3 separate regions of the Homo sapiens genome follow, and regions 1 and 2 are each linked to region 3. Evidence: promoter capture Hi-C in human tissues and cell types (Jung and others, 2019). All regions are on one chromosome and are shown on one strand. The core of a region is centred on a gene start or on the middle of the fragment in contact, and the rest is flanking DNA. Distances in the headings are between cores, read along the strand shown. Region 1 overlaps GREB1L (GREB1 like retinoic acid receptor coactivator). Region 2 overlaps ESCO1 (establishment of sister chromatid cohesion N-acetyltransferase 1). Region 3 holds the start of SNRPD1 (small nuclear ribonucleoprotein D1 polypeptide).

Evidence for each region. Contacts are between HindIII fragments. The study calls those that stand out against the background at their distance.
Region 1: a fragment that was not itself captured here is called in contact with the fragment with the promoter of SNRPD1 in region 3 in 2 of the 25 tissues and cell types used here (lymphoblastoid cells and stomach).
Region 2: a contact is called between a fragment that was not itself captured here and the fragment with the promoter of SNRPD1 in region 3, in 2 of the 25 tissues and cell types used here (dorsolateral prefrontal cortex and thymus).

What each region holds. Positions count from the first base shown.
Region 1 is chr18:21,503,638-21,507,157 of GRCh38, reverse strand. It overlaps GREB1L (GREB1 like retinoic acid receptor coactivator), which reads right to left. Exons shown (of 33, transcript NM_001142966.3): 24 at 1,591-1,746; 25 at 1,209-1,348. Among named protein-coding and RNA genes, the nearest start is that of GREB1L-AS1, 54 kb to the right of the region's middle. The HindIII fragment of the contact is 5,116 bases long and covers 1-3,520 here.
Region 2 is chr18:21,526,837-21,530,654 of GRCh38, reverse strand. ESCO1 (establishment of sister chromatid cohesion N-acetyltransferase 1) reads left to right here. Exons shown (of 12, transcript NM_052911.3): 12 at 165-1,371. The coding sequence ends at 312. Among named protein-coding and RNA genes, the nearest start is that of ESCO1, 72 kb to the left of the region's middle. The HindIII fragment of the contact is 6,958 bases long and covers 1-3,818 here.
Region 3 is chr18:21,610,812-21,614,315 of GRCh38, reverse strand. SNRPD1 (small nuclear ribonucleoprotein D1 polypeptide) reads right to left here and starts at 2,002. Exons shown (of 4, transcript NM_006938.4): 1 at 1,873-2,002. The coding sequence starts at 1,886. RefSeq lists an enhancer at 1,854-1,943 and a silencer at 2,204-2,253. The HindIII fragment of the contact is 13,798 bases long and covers 1-3,504 here.

The DNA.
Region 1 (3,520 bases), core at 507-3,006, 110 kb after region 3:
ACCAAAAGTTTTCAGTGACACCAAGAAAACAAATGGGATATAAAAGGTAACTTGTATTAGAAGGGCAGAATGATTCGATCAGTTTTTTAAAGTATATCCTTTCTAGTACTCATTTGTATTTCAGGATGAGATGTGGGAAAAGGGTGACGACCTGGCCCTGAAGAGCAGAAACAGGTTTAGGGGAGTCAGTATGGCCTACCAGAAGCAGGAGTTGTTTCTGTGTGTTCAGAGCCAAGTTATAAAAATAAAGATGAATTTGGGGAAGTAAGCTCTGGATATTACTATCATTTGTTGCCTTTCCATCTTTTGTGCTTAAAGATGCACTAGCCAAAAAGAAGCCACATACTAAGGGTTATTGGCCCATGTTCTTCATTCCTATGTCTCAGTTCTCACTGCATAAAACAAACTGACTCCACTGGCCAAGCCACCCCACGCAGGTGTGAGAATATGACTAGGTTGGTGCAAATCAACAGTCTTGTTAGAATCACAGCTCAAAGGGCACACCCTGTGGATCTGAGATAATAGTGCCATTTTAGTCAGTGCTCCAAAGGGAAGAGGGGGAAACCCTTTTATCAAATATACTGTAATATATGGATTGCAAATAAACACCTCAGCTACTTCCTAACCTAAACATGACACGTGTAACCATTTGAAGAAGTAATTCAAGACACTAAAACTAAGCTGCCTCCTCTCCCTCCCATAATCCAAATAAACCCAACATTCATTTAATTATGGCTTCATGCATTGTGCTTTTTTTTTTTTTGAGACGGAGTCCCACTCTGTCACCCAGGCTGGAGTGCAGTGGCGTGGTCTCGGCTCACTGCAACCTTTACCTTCCAGGTTCAAGCATTTCTCCTGCCTCAGCCTCCTGAGTAGCTGGGATTACAGGCATGTGCCACCACACCCGGCTAATTTTTTGTATTTTTGGTAGAGACGGGGTTTCACCATGTTGGCCAGGATGATCACGAACTTCTGACCTCAGGTGATCCACCCGCCTCGGCCTCCCACAGTGCTGGGATTACAGGGTGAGCCACCGCGCCCAGCCTTCATGCATTTTTCTCACCAATGAGTGGCTCCTTCTTATGAGTAAACTATCCTTTACCAGAGGCCTGAAACTAGGGGCCTTATTTTTCATCCCTCCACCCCCCACCCTTACATACAAAATCCATACTGGGTGACAGAGGGCGAGGGCGAAGGTGGGATGGTACCTGGGAGGCAGAGGTGAAGTCCATGTACTGGCGGCACTGTTCACAGTGGTGAAAGGTGTTATAGGCTGCATATTTGGTCAGCATTATGGATACAGTTTCCCGTTTCCTGGGCTCTTCAACTTTGGATTCCTTTATCACTTCTGTGTATAAAGGGGCAAAAAGCCATCCCATGAGATAACATGTTTTCCCTATGCCTGGAAAGAAAAGTCCCTCTTTCCCCAAAATGACTTTTCCATGTATTCTGTAATTTATGCCCTAAGAAACAGTTATGAAAATTTAAAAAATGATGCGCATAAGAGCGAAAGAAAAGTGAGATGTAAGGCACCCTGAGCTAGTGTCCCCTTAACCCAGAGAGGAGGTGAACTTGGCTGATTGCACTGACCTTGTTTGACCCCTGCCAGCTTCTCAGTATACACCAGGCTCATCAAACTGTACTTGGGGTCATGCACACTGACATCAAAAGGCATTTTACTGAAGCTCTCGATGTCAGGCCAGGGCTCTCCCTCTGACTGGCTCACTTCACTGCTTTCATTGTGATCTAGGACAAGAAGGAAGTGTGCAGAGCAGGTGACTGGCCTCCCTCTTCCCCATGTGTCAGAGAGAATGGCTTTTATGGGACGTAGAGCCCAGATGGGTGGACAAAGGCATTTCTGAAAAATGAGCTCCCCTGTCCCAGTAGAGGAGGCAGAATTGTTCACACCCATGCTGAGAGGAACATTTGCCCTCACTGGCCCCCAGCATTCGTCTCTGCAGACCCAATTCACAAACTCTGGCATCTGTAAGATAACCTAGTCTCCACCAGGCCAAATTTCCTTAAAAGTTTAATTTTGGATGATCTTATTTCTGTCTTGAGATTTTAACTGTGGGGTGTTAATATACTGACACCCAAGAGATTTTAGGATGCACTGAGCAAGATTCCCAATGTCTTCCGCACGTTACAATCAGCTGGGAGCTGGTAAAAATTCCCACACTCAGGCCACACATCCCAGAATAGTTCAGTCAGAATGTCTGACTGCCCAGGATCCAGTCATATTGTTTAAGGCGCCTCAGAGTGTTCCAATATGCAGTCACGGTTGAGAGCCAGTAGACCTGGGTGTGAATCCTGGCCCTACCCCTTACAGCGTCACACCTTCAGGCACTGTACTTAACCCTGAGTCCCCAGATTATAGTAAGCATTAATGCAGCCTCAACCACCTGGGATCAAATGATCCTCCCACCTCAGCCTCCTGAGTAGCTGGGACTACAGGCACGTGCCACCATGCCCAGCTAACGTTTTTGTAGAGGCAGGGTCTTACTGTATTGCCTAAGCTGGTCTTGAACTGCTGGGCTCAAGCAATCATCCTGCCTCAGCCTCCCAAAGTGCTGGAACCGCAGGTGTAAGCCACCATACCAGACCCTTTTCTTTTTGTTTTTGGAGACAGGGTCTCACTCTGTCACTCAGGCTAGAATGCAGTGATGCAATGTAAGCTCACTGCAACCTTGAACTCCTGGGCTCAAGGAATCCTTCCACTGCAGCTTCCTGAGTAGCTAGGATTGCAGGCGTGTACCATCACACCTGGCTAGAGTTTTAAAATTTTTGTGAGAGATGGGGTCTCCCTGCTGCTCAGGCTGATCTCAGACTTCTAGCCTCAAGCCATCTTCCCACCTTGGCCTCCCAAAGCACAGGGGATTACAGGTGTGAGCCACCCTGCCCAGCCAGAGATGGTACATTTAAAGTGCCAAGACACGCTGGACATGGTGGCTCACACCTGTAATCTCAGCATTTTGGGAGGCCGAGGCAGGCAGATCATTTGAGGTCAGGAATTCGAGACCAGCCTGGCCAACCCTGTCTCTACCAAAAATACCAAAATTAGCTGGGTGTGGTGGCACATGCCTGTAGTCCAGCTACTCAGGAGGCTAAGAATCACTTGAACCCCTGAGACGGAGGTTGCAGTGAGTTGAGATCGTGCCACTGCACTCCAGCCTGTGTGACAGAGTAAGAGTCTATCTCAAAAAATAAATAAATAAATAAAATAAAGTGCCTAGACAGTTGCAGGCACACAGCTGGTGTCTAACAGATATTTTTTATGATTGGCCAGGTGCAGTGGCTCACACCTGTAATCCCAGCATTTTAGGAGGCCGAGGTGGGTGGATCCCCTAAGGCTAGGAGTTCGAGACCAGTCTGGCCAAAGTGGTGAAACCCTGTCTTTACTAAAAATACAAAAAACTAGCTGGGTGTGGTGGTGCATGCCTTTAATCCCAGCTACTTGGGAGGCTGAGGCAGGAGAATCGCCTGAACCTGGGAAGCAGAGGTTGCAGTGAGCCAAGATCGC
Region 2 (3,818 bases), core at 349-2,848, 83 kb after region 3:
AGATGAATAATTATTTTCAAAAATTTTGAGCACATACAGCAGTATCTAAAAAGCTTTTTTAGTCAAATTGTATTTGACAGGTTATTCCAGTTTTAATGATTAGAATTTTTTTTTTTTTAACATTTCACACTTAACCCTTCCCCCCCCCCATTTTTTTTTAATAGGAGTAACTTTATATATGGCTCATATTTGAGCAAAGAAGAAATTGCTTTCTCAGATCCCACTCCTGATGGAAAGCTGTTTGCAACACAGTACTGTGGCACTGGTCAATTTCTGGTATATAATTTTATTAATGGACAGAATAGCACGTAAAACAAATTCTTGCCTACACCACTAGAAGACATCTATTGAAGAGAATGGATTGGTTGCTGACTTTAACCAGGAACTAGGGCCATTTTTATTACAATGAACTCAGGACTGGCAACAACCATATGGTTGTTCCATTTTCATAAAATTGGAAACAATGCAGTAATAGCTTATTGTTTTGTTTTTTAAAGAAGATATTTTATTATCTTTTACAGAAATTTATGATTGATGTATTTTATCTATAGTTATTTAGACATGTTTACATGCAGCAGATAATTGTTCATAGTGGACTGAAAACTAATGCAAGGACTATGGTCTCAGTGATAAGTATATTTTGAAGTTCTTAATATGGAAATATACCAGTGTAGCTTGGTACTGTATTTTTTTATATTGATCTGCTGATACCAGTGATAGGCTTAAAGATTGTATTTTCACAGAGTGGAAACCAATTTTTTTAGTTATTGTTCAAGGAGGGTGCAATATTAAGTGTTTTGGAATTTGAAGCTAATTTTTAAAAGGCCTGAACTATACTTTGAAGAAACCCCTATAGAAAAGGAAAGCTCCAGCTAAATAGGAAGAATTAGAATATTGAGCTTTTTTTTCCTGATTTTTCTCTTTCCTATCTTTGATGGAAGGAGGAAGTAGAAAGTGGTAAAGAATTGAGGCTTTCCTTCTTGGAGAGCTGTAAATGACAAGCATTAGGAAAGGTACCCTCCTAGATTCATTATTCTTTCATTCTGGTTTCACTTTTAAAATAAATGGCAACTTGGCACACCTAGGCTGTTAACAAATCTCAAAGAGGTTTATAAAAACGTATAGAATACTTGGAAGCAAAGTATGGATGACTCGGTATCTGCTTTGTTATTCCTCAGAAATACTGCACTGAGTATATGCCCTCATTACTGGACTTCATTTTGATACTTGTCTATCCTTCATAGTGCCCTCTACTTTTAAAGGGTTTATATGTTGAAAAACTGCTGTGGCCTTTTATGACCTGTATATAATGTAGAATAAAAATAATAAAATACTTGATAGCTTTTTCTAAGTGACCAATGTACTAACTGAGAATAATGGTGTGTTGTCATTTGTGCTTTTTCAGGGTGTTTTTTTGGTTTGATATCTTGAAATATGATTAAAACATTGGCTTCCTAAAGGCAGTTTCCACCAGTTTGCCAAAGGATCATTGTGTCAGCAGCAAATCAGCTGAACTTTATTTCCAAAGGCAAAATCCTTTCTGATTATTTTAGTAACATAGTACTTTTATGATGTTGCAAATAAATGAAGGGCCCACAGCCCAAGAATGAATTACCACTGTGGTTCAACTTAGGTTATTTTTGTGAGCTGAAATGATCATATCTCAGTTGAAAACTGGCTAAAATTTAGGGCCTTAAATTAACAGGTATACATTTTATTTCCCTATAAATTTTTGCTTTTACAATTTCTAGGCCAGGCGCGGTGGCTCACGCCTATAATCCCAGGACTTTGGAAGGCTGAGGCGGGCGGATCACGAGGTCAGGAGTTCGAGACCAGCCTGACCAATATGGTGAAATCCCGTCTCTACTAAAAATACAAAAATTAGCTGGTTTTGGTGGCATGCACCTGTAATCCCAGCTGCTCAGGAGGCTAAGGCAGGACAATAGCTGGAACCTGGGAGGTGGAGATTGCAGTGAGCAGAGATTGCACCATTGTACTCCAGCCTGAGCAAAAAGAGCAAAAAACTCCACCTCAAAAAAAAATTTTTTTTTCTAGAGTGGTATAAGACTCTACATTTTGTATGGGTAGAATGATAGGGCACGGTAAATATTTCCCCGTGATTCATCAAGCTGGTCTAGCTTTTTTTTTTTTTTTTTTTTTTTTTTGAGACAGAGGCTCACTCTGTCACCCAGGCTGGAGTGCAATGGCATGACCTCAGCTCACTGCAACCTCCACCTCCTAGGCTCAAGCGATTCTCCTGCCTCAGCCTCCAGAGTAGCTGGGATTACAGGCACCTGCCACCACGGCCGGCTAATTTGTTTTTGTATTTTTTAGTAGAAACAGGGTTTCACCACATTGGCCAGGCTGGTCTTGAACTCCTGACCTCACGTGGTCCACCTGCCTCGGCCTCGCAAAGTGCTGAGATTATAGGTGTGAGCCACTGCACCTGGCCCTAGCTTTTGATACTGTCATTTCCCTTTGGGCTTGAGACTGTTCTAGTCAATCCTGGTCTCATTGTTTGCCTGACAGGTACCATGATTTAAAAAAAAAAAAAAAAAACAGAATGAAATTTTGGGATATAGTGTAGACTCTCTAGTAACTGTTAATCCCATAATACAGGTCCAATTTCCATAAACAATAGTATACTACTTTGACTACTTTTGACTTGGTTTCAAGGTGACCTGGAGGTGGAAGAGGGTATATTGGGTGGTTGGTTTATATGTTATTATTACTGAGAAACCAGTTTATTTTCATGTTTATACTGAAGATATAGCCTCCCAAATTTTACAATTTAGGTATTTCTCTAAGAATAGTATTATTAGTTAATACCTAACATTTGAGTGTTTGCTATGTGTCAGACCCTGTGTGTTTAGTCCTGCATTATTTTATGTAATCATTACGACAGTCCTATGAGGTAGGGTTTATAATTGAGGAATCTGGAACTTAGATGATAATTAAGAGCCGTTTGTGTGAAAAGTGTTGAAACACTGAACTAAAGCTGTGATGTGGAGATGAAGACGAGACAGATACACATTGAAAAGATAAAATTGAAGAATTGACACAGTTGAATTGATAGGAATTTATAAACAACCAGAAAAAGATCATGGCAAAGAGGTTAAGGTAAGTGGGAATTTTGGTTTGGGTAATTGAATTAGATTGACAGATGGGAATACAGGGGAATTAGGTTGGGAGGATTGGATGGGGATGTCCTCAGTTTTGGTCAAGATTTTAAGGTGGTTGTAGAAAGAGTCTCTTAAGTGGAGAAACCTTTTAGTATACAATTGGATATGTGAATCTAGAGTTTCAGAAAGGTTCTAACTGAGAAACAAATTTATGAGTTCACTTATTTATTTGAAGGTTCACAAGGTCACCCTGGGGTTTGTAAAATGAGAAGGTAGAAGAGAGTTGTGAGGTACACCATCATTTAAGAGTCTCAAAGAAGACTGCCTAAGAAGGCATGAGCAGCAAGGTAGGAGAGCCAGAAGAGAGTGGTAGAAACCAAGGGAAAAATGTCAAGAATCAAAGAATGATCAACCCTGTCATACCACAGTTGAAGACTGAAGAGAGCCCAAGTGATGTTAGGAAAAGAGCAGTCTCAGTGGAGTGGTGGAGGCAGCAGGGACACGGTGAGTGTACACTAATGGCCACAGACTGTAGAAGAGGGTGAGTCTGTAATTGCTGACTATATAAAGGTGCTTATAGATTTTTTGTTAGCAGCCCTCATGTAGTTGTTGGTTGTTTATAAAAATATCTAGCATAGAGACATGGTAAGAGCCACAAATATAGTCAGGAACTACAAGATTTTATGGGCGATGCTT
Region 3 (3,504 bases), core at 753-3,252:
CAGATTGGCAGGTATGGAGAAATTTCAAAAAATGTAATTTTCTTTTTTTGAGACCGAGTCTCACTCTGTTGCCCAGGCTGGAGTGCAGTGGTGCGATCTCAGCTCACTGCAACCTCCCAGGATCAAGTGATCCTCTTACCTCAGCCTCCTGAGTAGCTGGGATTACAGGCGCCCGCCACCATGCCCGGCTAATTTTTGTATTTTTTCGAAAGAATGGGTTTCACCACGTTGGCCAGGCAGGTCCTGAACTCCTGACCTCAGGCGATCCGCCTGCCTCAGCCTCCCAAAGTGTTGGGATTACAGGCGTGAGCCACCACGTCCAGCCTAAAAAATGCACTTTAAATTCTATGACTTCCTATCCAAAGTTATAGTTCAAATAAAAATATACCAAAAATTAACCTTAAATGTCTTTTGTACCAACTCCTCCCTGAATATAATTTTTTTTTTTTTTTTTTTTTTTTGAGATGGAGTCTCGCTCTGTCGCCCAGGCTGGAGCGTAGTGCCACGATATCGGCTCACTGCAACCTCTGCCGCCTGGGTTCAAGCGATTCTCCTGCCTCAGCCTCCTGAGTAGCTGGGATTAAAGGCGCGCGCCACCACGCCCCACTAACTTTTGTAATTTTCGTAGAGACGGGGTTTCACCATGTTGGTCAGGCTGGTCTCGAACTCCTGACCTAGTGATCCACCCGCCTTGGCCTCCCAAAGTGCTGGGATTACAGACGTGAGCCACTGCGCCTGGCCTCCTCCCTGAGTGTTGAAGGCTTTTATGTGTTATTTAAAACGTTTCAAACAAACGTTACTTCAGACGTTATCTACTTGTCTGTCATCCCCACTAACCAGAAAACTCCAACAAGGCAGGTACTCTGCCTTTTAAAAAATCCTATTACCAGCGCCTAGTATGTAACAGGTGCCCAATAACTATTTAGCGGATATTGACAATCCTTGACTCAACAGGAAAAAAACAAGCTAAATATTTATAATTGCTGGCTTAGCTATTAGAAACGTCTGCCTCTGTTCCAGGCTTAGTCTCAAGGAAAAACACCAAAACCAAATCTACTTGCAGGTAGTTTAGAATTATTCACATCAGCAAACAAGTTTTCAGAAGACTCACCTAACTGACAGGGTCTATTTATTTCTTAAGAAATAAAACAGGAGAACTATATATTATCTGAGTAATCAGCCACAATTACGTTGTGATAATTTCTGCCCTATATTGGGAGATTTTCCTAAATAAAAAGCCTACCTTAAAGGGAAATAGAGGTGGAATAATCAATCACAAATCTAAGGAGGATAAAAAGGTAAACTTAAAAATCGGCCGGGCACGGTGGCTCAAACCTGTAATCTCAGCCCTTTGGAAGGGCGAGGCGGGCAGAAAGCTTGAGCCCAGGAGTTCGAGACCAGCCTGGTCAACAAAGTGAGACACCATCTTTATTTAAAAAAACAAAAACTTGTGAAGCCGGAAGTCCTTCTCTGATTTAAAATATTTTGCAAACAGGTTTGTTTCCAGATAAGCTCATACAGCTTTCTAAGTACTGTTAAGCAGGACTGGGGAGTTCCACTCAAAAAGAAAATGAGTAACTGTAAGAGGGAGATGTGTCCCAGGAGGCGCTGCATCTTTAAAGCCTCTAAGTCACTAGGCAGGAAGAAAAGGCTCGGCCTTTATACCAATCTCTTGGAAGACACGCGGGATCCGCGAGCGACCCAGGCGGAAGCCCAGGCCCGAGCACGAGCTGCGGGCGCAGTAAGGCCGGCCGTTAGCAGGCCGCGCACACGCGGCTTTCCCGCCTCCTGCAAATGGGAGAGCCCAGCCTTCCGGACTCCGGGCCAAGCCCTCCCTTCACAGCCCCCAGAGCTGCTTGGTCACTCCCTCACCTCACGAGCTTCATCCTAGCGGCGCCGTCACCCTCTGGGTCCGACAGCACACAGAATCCTTCAACCGAACACTGACCGACTGCAGTATGAATGGCCGGAAGCGCCTACTCCAGGGGCTCCGGACGTCAAGAGCGCGCGGAGCACTGCAGGCGCATGGCGGAAACGCCGAGGCTGCGCTGGGCCGCACTCTCTTCCGGCCGCGAGGAGCGCGACTGCGGCCCCTGGCGGCTGGAGGTTGCCTTGCGACGGCTGAGGGTATCGAGGGCTGGTCTTGGAGAAAAATGTCCTACAAGAGAGGGAGATTCGAAGAGATTAAATCCAATTAATAGGACTGTCGCATTTTGGGAGGCCGAAGCGGGGGTATCACCTGAGGTCAGGAGTTCAAGACCAGCCTGGCCAACAGGGTGAAACCCCCGTCTCTACTAAAAAGACAAAAAATTAGCTGGGCGTGGTGGCGGGCGCATGTAATCCCAGCTACTCGGAAGGCTGAGGCAGGGGAATCGCTTGAACCCGGGAGGCGGAGGCTGCAGTGAGCGGAGATCGCACCACTACACTCCTGCCTGGGCAACAAGAACGAAACTCCGTCTCCCAAAAAAAAAAAAAAAAAAAAAAAGTACTGTCACCATCACGTTTCTGAACAGCAGGGCACTGTGAGTGCAGCACCTAATACAAATTCCTCACTGAACGGAAAGAAGGTCTTAGAGAAGCCCAAAGTCTTATGCTGATTCTGTTCCAACACCAGGAACCTAGCATTGCTTACTGTACCTGAAGCAAATCACACAATGGGCCAGGCGCTGTGGCTCAAGCCTGTAATTCCAGCACTTTGGGAGGCCGAGGCGGGCAGATAGCGAGGTCAAGAGATCGAGACCATTCTGGCCAACATGGTGAAACCCCGCCTCTACTAAAAATACAAAAATTAGCGGGGCGTGGTGATGCGCGCCTGTAGTCCCAGCTATTCGGGAGGCTGAGGCAGGAGAATCGCTTGAACCCAGGAGGTGGAGGTTGCAGTGAGCTGAGATCGTGCCACTGCACTCCAGCCTGGCAACAGAGCGAGACTCCGTCTCAAAAAATAATAATAATAAAAATAAAATCCACAATGTAGCAGATTATTTTCACTTTAAGTTCCAATCTATAAGACAAACTTTTCAGTCTTCATCTTTCTCAACATCTCATCAAAATATATATATTTTTTATTTTTTTGAGATGGAGTCTCACTCTGTCGCCCAGGCCGGAGTGCAGTAGCGCGATCTCAGCTCACTGCAACCCTTGCCTCCCGGTTTCAAGCCATTCTCGTGCCTCAGCCTCTCCAGTAACTGAGATTACAGGCGCGCATCACCATGGCCCGCTAATTATCGTCTTTTTATGTATGTATGTATGTACGTACGTATGTATGTATTTTGAGACAGAGTCTCCCTCTGTCGCCCAGGCTGTAGTGCAGTGGCGCGATCTCGGCTCACTGCAAGCTCCGCCTTCCGGGTTCACGCTATTCTCCTGCCTCGGCCTCCCAAGTAGCTGGGACTACAGGCGCCAGCCACCACGCCCGGCTAATTTTTTTGTATTTTTAGTAGAGACGGGGTTAGCCAGGATGGTTTCGATCTCCTGACCTCGTGATCCGCCCGCCTCGGCCTCCCA